Linked DNA regions of Homo sapiens: region 2 is linked to region 1. The links are contacts of gene promoters, found by promoter capture Hi-C in human tissues and cell types (Jung and others, 2019). All regions are on one chromosome and are shown on one strand. The core of a region is centred on a gene start or on the middle of the fragment in contact, and the rest is flanking DNA. Distances in the headings are between cores, read along the strand shown. Region 1 holds the start of TPM3 (tropomyosin 3). Region 2 overlaps GATAD2B (GATA zinc finger domain containing 2B).

Evidence for each region. Contacts are between HindIII fragments. The study calls those that stand out against the background at their distance.
Region 2: a contact is called between a fragment that was not itself captured here and the fragment with the promoter of TPM3 in region 1, in 1 of the 25 tissues and cell types used here (adrenal gland).

The regions. Positions count from the first base shown.
Region 1 is chr1:154,190,768-154,194,142 of GRCh38, forward strand. It overlaps TPM3 (tropomyosin 3), which reads right to left and starts at 1,333. Exons shown (of 10, transcript NM_152263.4): 1 at 1,135-1,333; 2 at 419-544. The coding sequence starts at 1,251. It overlaps MIR190B (microRNA 190b), which reads right to left and starts at 2,976; the gene lies at 2,898-2,976. The HindIII fragment of the contact is 10,185 bases long and covers 1-3,375 here.
Region 2 is chr1:153,891,293-153,894,726 of GRCh38, forward strand. All of the region lies in intron 1 of GATAD2B (GATA zinc finger domain containing 2B), which reads right to left. Among named protein-coding and RNA genes, the nearest start is that of GATAD2B, 30 kb to the right of the region's middle. The HindIII fragment of the contact is 7,988 bases long and covers 1-3,434 here.

The DNA.
Region 1 (3,375 bases), core at 83-2,582:
AGTTGAGAGATGAGAGGTTCCCTATTAATACACATATCCACATGCCAAGACTTGGACATAAAAGCTAAGAATGTGGCATGGGGGAGGAGGTAGGATAAGTGACAGCATTCTGAACTTAGAGTCCCCTCTCTTTGTCCAGGTCCTGGGAAAGATAATTAAATTCCTGGGTTGGTGATAGGAGATAAATGAGACCTTTACATGTATTAAAAAAAAACTTTTAACATGTTGGAGATGTCTTTAAGAAAGAAAATACATGCCATTATGAGAATATACCAGCATGTGGTTATATGCAAAAATGTATGTGAGTATATATGTCTGTGTTCCATGAACCCACAAGTGTGTTTGGAATTTCGTCATACATTAACATAAAGATCTATATGTGTAGATTAAACCCATCCTCCATCTCTCTAATACTCACATCAGCAGCCTTCTTCTCTGCCAGTTCCAGCTTCTCCTGGGCATCCTTCAAAGCTTCAGAATACTTGTCCAGCTCATCCTCTGTCCCTTTCAGCTTCTTCTGCATGGCTGCCAGCTCATCCTCCAGCTATAGGAGCCCAGAGAGTCACACACAAAAACACACAAACACAACAATGCAGGGTTGGACCCTGGGCTCTTGGAGCCCTGAGTGTAACCTCCATGTTACCATCCCTAGTGAGACACACTTTCTCCCCAGCCACTTCCAGCCCACTGCCTCAGGAGTTATGCCGTAGCTTGGCCTGTGACCCTGTAATCTCTGATCCTAAGATGACCAAGCCATCCTGGGTTTTCATCCAAGACCCCTGGATGATAAATATCTAAAGTGTAGATGCCCGTGATGCTATTTGAGTGAAAAGAGATGCTCTTTCCCTCTAGAACTCTTACCTTTTCCTCTAGAAGTCAAGGGTTCTTCCAAAACATGGTCCATTTCTACTTAAATTCAGCAGACATACTGTGGCTCACTGACTTTCCCAAGGTCACAAAGGCAGTCTGAGACAGATATGTTAGATATCCTCTGCTCCTCCAGTGAGGCTGGGGAGTCCATCCCACCCCCAAAAAGGAGGTGACACCAGTAGTCACTGTCTTTCCCATGAAAACTCCCTTCCATTTCACAGTCTTGTTCACTAGCAGATGAGAGAGATCAATGCCAGTGCCTACCTGTTTACTTCTTTCTTCTGCCTGCTTCTGCTCAGCTTCAGCTTGCTCTGCCCGATCCAGAGCATTCTCCTTGTCTAACTTCAGCATCTGCATCTTTTTCTTGATGGCCTCCATCATGAGCAGTGGCTGTTGGTAGGCTCACCTGTGAACACTGGAGAACTGGAGACTGGGGCAAGAAAGAAGGGGCTGCTGCCTGAGTGACCAGGAGGTCCCCAGACTTGAGTCTTTATCTGTGCTCATAGCTCCACCTTTTGTTCCTAATATGGTCTTTCCAGCTCCCTCCACCCCATCATTGTTCTCCTGGGGGAACACAGGGTGAGACGCTTTGATGAACTGACATCACCAGCAAAAAAAATATCTAGCAACAGCTGAGGCTGATTTTAGACAATGGAAAGTGGGGGAGGGAAGAGGTTCTCCCTGACCCTGAAACTTTCCACTCATTCTGGGCAGCTCTATGGATGTTTTAAAAGAAGAGGAAGAGGGGAGGGAAGAACATTGAAATAGAGAAGTGTACTTTGGCAATTCTAGGTTGGCAGTTTGCATCCAGGGGGTCCTGGTTGCCTTTCAGCTTCCCGTTTCACTCTCCCCCAGACTGTGTTGAATGCTGGTCAAACTCCGTTAGTTGAGTTTTAGCTTTTGATTCCTGGTATTCAAGGAGCTTGGGCACAGGGAAGAGGGGAGGTCACTCATGATCCTTAACAATTCTCCCAGATCCCCAGATCAAATTGCTGTGCTATTCTGGGAGTCTCCGATTGGCAGGGAGACGTTTTTCCTCCCCACCAAGAGCCACAAGAGTAGAGTAAGAGGTAGGGTTGGAATCTCCAACCCTATCCTTGAAGGCTATCCCAGAGCTTCAAGTGGGGTGGGGAGAGAAACAGGGGAGGGTCAGAACAATCCAGACAGGATCATACCCTTTGTTTTCCCACAGTAATCTTAAAATAGAACTGTTGTACCCACACAGACTTTGGTCTGTGTGGCTCTCTCCTCTTCTTCCCTTTATCTTCTCCCTTCTTAATTCTCCCCAACGCTGCCACTCACCACATCATCGTAATCATCATTATCAGCTCTATTCTTTCCAGTTTAGTTCCAGACCATGTTTATTCTTCCATTGGGAGCCTTGTTACTAACAGGTGGCAAGGATACCAGTCCACTGGCACCATACACCTGAAAATATGCCAAGGGAGAGGTGGGCACTGTTCAAGGTGACCAGATATATTGGACAAATATAAATGGCTCTAGTTAGTCATTTATGTCAGGATACTGAGAGTTAATGCTAAGCCCCAGCAATGGGGGAACGGAGACACCCACCAGGCCAGTGGGTAGAGCAGAGCTGGAGTCCACTATTGAGAGCTTCCAGTCACTAGAGGTAGATAGGCAGATAGACCATCAGCTGACTCTCGACAGAGAGAGGAGAAACCAAGTCTCCTTTCTCTGGAGATTAGCCAGGGAAAGGGGTTAGGGAACAGGGAGAGGAAGGAGTGGAAAATGGGGGGGGGGTGGGCAAGTGAATAAGGGGGAGAAAAATACGAGGACAAGAAAAGGCAAAGAAATGTCCCTTCTAGTATAAGGGGACAAGAAATAGAAAGATTCTATCCTCAAATTCCAACTCTCTCCCATTCCCACACCAGCCCTCTTAGGTTAAGATTGAAATGCACATAGGTTGCAGCTACTGGACTTTTGGGGGGGTCCTGGAGAGAAGAGGTTCAGTAAAAGAGACAGGAGCCCCAGAGATTGAAGTATGAAAGAGGGTGGTGCTGAATCACCTGCTGCTGTAAGAATATGTTTGACATTTAGTTGGTTCCTAATTAAACAACCCAATATCAAACATATCACACAGAAGCAGGCAGGAGAGCTTTGGGGGTCATCTGCCTTCCTTCCAGTTGCAAAGAAAGAATAGAGCAGACACCAGGCACCAATCATGTCTAGGTGGAGAGCCATCTCCTTGAGGAAGGGTACTGGCTCCTGCTCTTCACCTCCCAAGACAGCCAGCTCTTGCTTATTGTCCTACGTGTCATCCCTGCCTCAGCTCCTCCTCTACAAGCTCCTGGCCTTTGCTGGATCACGTTGGCCTAAACCAGGAAGAATACCTGGCAGGGCTCCACATCCGGGCAACTATCGTTCCCTAGAGCTCCCACACAGAGCTTCTCACCCTGATGTCACGGCCCCAGCGCCCAGAGGATCAGCCGTGTCAGCAGCTCCTCATCAAAATTGCCACCTGCTCTCTTCAATGCCATTCCAGCT
Region 2 (3,434 bases), core at 760-3,259, 300 kb before region 1:
AGTGGTGGTTCATGCCAGTAATCCCAGCATTTTGGGAGGCCAAGGTGGGTGGGTCACTTGAGGTCAGCAGTTCAAGACCAGCCTGGCCAGCATGGTGAAACCCCATCCCTACTCAAAATATAAAAAATTAGCTAGGTGTGGTGGCGGGCACCTGTAAATCCCAGCTACTTGGGAGGTTGAGGCAGGAGAACTGCTTGAGCCCAGGAGGCAGAGTTTGTAGTGAGCTGAGATCGTGCCACTGCACTCCAGCCTGGGCAACAAAAGTGAAACTCTGTCTCGTTTAAAAAAAAAAAAAAAAAAAAAAAAGAGGTGGGGGGGAGAGGCAAAGGGAAGGAAAAAGGAGAGGGGAAGGGTAAGAGGAGGTAAGTATGGGGGGGGGGGAGGGGAGGGAAAAGAAGTAGATTAAGTTCTGTCTCCAAAGAAAGAGATGTCCTTTTTTACTGTAAACTTTTTCCAATTGTAAATTCTGTACCATGTGCATATATCACCTATCCAAAAACTGACTAAAATTTAAAAATAAAAGGAATGGCTAGATTTAACATAATTACTAAAAGACATAAGCACAATGAAAATTAGGGACAGAGTTTATGGCCGGGTGCAGTGGCTCATGCCTGTAATCCTAGCACTTTGGGAGGCTGAGGCGGGCGGATCATGAGGTCAAGAAATCGAGACCATCCTGGCCAACATGGTGAAGCCCCGTATCTACTAAAAACACAAAAATTAGCCAGGCATGGCGGTGGCAGACGCCTGTAGTCCCAGCTACTCGGGAGGCTGAGGCAGGAGAATTGCTTAAACCCAGGAGGCGGAGGTTGCAGTGAGCCGAGATCATTTCACTGCACTCTAGCCTGGCAACAGAGTGAGACTCCGTCTCAAAAAAAAAAAAAAAAAAAAAAGAAAAGACAAGACAATTAGGGACAGAATCCCCAGGCCTAGCTAGAAGCAGCATAAGTCACTCACAAAACTCAAGAGTAAAACAGGTAACAAGACTATTATAGTATATAGAACACTACCACTAGTTAAGGTAAGACACACTAAAGGCTAAAGATCAGATATCTAGGAAAAAAGATCTAGCTGACCAAATATTAAACATACTAATAAGTATTCCCTCCTATTGAATCCAAGGGAAAAATAAATAAACTGATAAGTAAAGGGGTCTTTCAGGGTCAAAGCATCATCACTCACCTAGAACTCTCTAGACTGTAGAGGGATACATGAATACATAGCTGCTCATAACAATTGACTAGTAAATGGTCAAGGAGTTTAAAATCAGAATTGATGGATAAGATATGCCAATGTGAAATTCTGGACATTCATCGCTTCTGTCCAACAATATTATAAAATAATTTTGTCATCAAAATGGGCCCAACATTAGACAGTATCCAGTAGACTTGTAAGAAACCTTTTTTTTTTTTTTTTTTTTTTGAGACAGTCTCCCTGTGTCACCCAGGCTGGAGTGCAGTTGTGCCATCTTGGCTTATTGCAACCTCTGCCTCCCGGGTTCGGGCAATTATCCTACCTCCGCCTCCCAAGTAGCTGGGACTACAGGCACGTGCCACCACGCCTGGCTAATTTTTGTATTTTTAGTAGAGACGGGGTTTCACAATGTTGGCCAAGCTGATCTTGAACTCCTGACCTCGTGATCCACCCGCCTCGGCCTCCCAAAGTGCTGGGATTATAGGTGTGAGCCACTGCGCCCGGCCAAGAAATCTTCTTTATTGAAATGAGGGAAGAAAATATTCATGCAGAGGAGTGGATCAAGTTCTGTGAGGCTGTACCTAAACACAGTACAAGAGGAAAAACTTGTCTGGTCTGGATTTTACCTAGAGGAAACTTCTAGCAGTCTATTAGCTGAGATTTGCCCATTAGCATTGATGAGCACATGGAACCTACAGGAAAAACAGTGACACTTTTCTTCAATTCAGTGACATAAAGATTTGTCAAAATTCTGACTGTTGTTACGAGGATTTGGTATAGTAGGCAGGCTTATCATTTTACAGGGCAGTAAATGTTCACCTTAAAAAGTTTATCCCAGCTGGGCACGGGCCGGCTCACATCTGTAATCCCAGCACTTTGGGAGACTGAGGCAGGCAGATCACTTGAGCCCAGAAGTTTCACACCAGCCTGGGTGACATGCCGAAACCCAGTCTCTACAAAAAAAGACAAAAAGTTAGCTGGGCAGGGTGGCACATGCCTGTAGTCCCAGCTACTCAAGAGGCTGAAGTGGGAGGATTGCTTGAGCTGCAGGAGGCAGAGGTTGCAGTGAGCCGAGATCACAACACTGCACTCCAGCCTGGGCAACAGAGCAAGACTCTGTCTCAAAAAAAAAAATAAAATAAGTTTACCCCTTCCCCTAAGTAAAACTGAACTTTTAGAAAAGTTTATTCTTGGCCAGGCACACTGGCTCATGCCTGTAATCCCAGCACTTTGGAGGCCAAGGTGGGTGGATCACAGGGTCAGGAGTTCGAGAACAGCCTGGTCAACATGGTGAAATCCCATCTCTACTGAAAATATAAAAATTAGCCAGGCATCGTGGCAGGTGCCCGTAATCCCAGCTACTCAGGAGGCTGAGACGGGAGAATCGCTTGAACCTGGGAGGCGGGGGCTGCAGTGAGCCGAGATCGCACCACTGCACTTGGCCTGGGTGACTGAACAAGACTCCATCTAAAAAAAAAAAAAAAAAAAAAAAAAAACCCAAAAAATGTCCCCATACTAACTGGAACCACTATATTAAACACCACCAACATGACTTTATCTTCAAGGAGGTTTGTGGCAATTATTACCAAGTCTCAAGCTTGTAGTTGAACACAAATACTACCAGAGGAAGTCAGAATAGTGGCTACCTGTTGGAGTGGAGGAGGGTAATGACTAGGAGAGAACATAAAACAGACTTCTGGGACTGAGCATGTGGCTTACGCTTGTAATCCCAGCACTTTGGGAGGTTGAGGCGGGCAGATCACTTGAGGTCAGGAGTTCAAAACCAGCCTGGCCAACATGGTGAAACCTCGTCTCTACTAAAAATACAAAAATTAGCCAGGTGTGGTGGCACACGCCTGCAGTTCTAGCTACTCAGGAGGCTGAGGCAAGAAAATCGCTTCAACCCAGAAGGCAGAGGTTGCAGTGAGCTGAATTCGTGCCGCCGCACTCCAGCATGGGCGACAGAGCAAGATTCTGTCTCAAAAAACAAAAAAAGACTTCTGGGTCTTCTATATCTCTATCTGGGTGGTCACCTTACAATTAAACTACTTTTCTGTATGTACATTATACCTCAGTTAAAAAAAAAAGTTTACGGGCCAGGTACAGTGGCTCACGCCTGTAATCCTAGCACTTTGGGAGGCCGAGACAGGCAGATCACGAGGTCAGAAGATTGAGACCATCCTGGCTAACACGGGGAAACCCCGTCTCTACTAAAAATACAAAAAATTAGCCAGGCATGG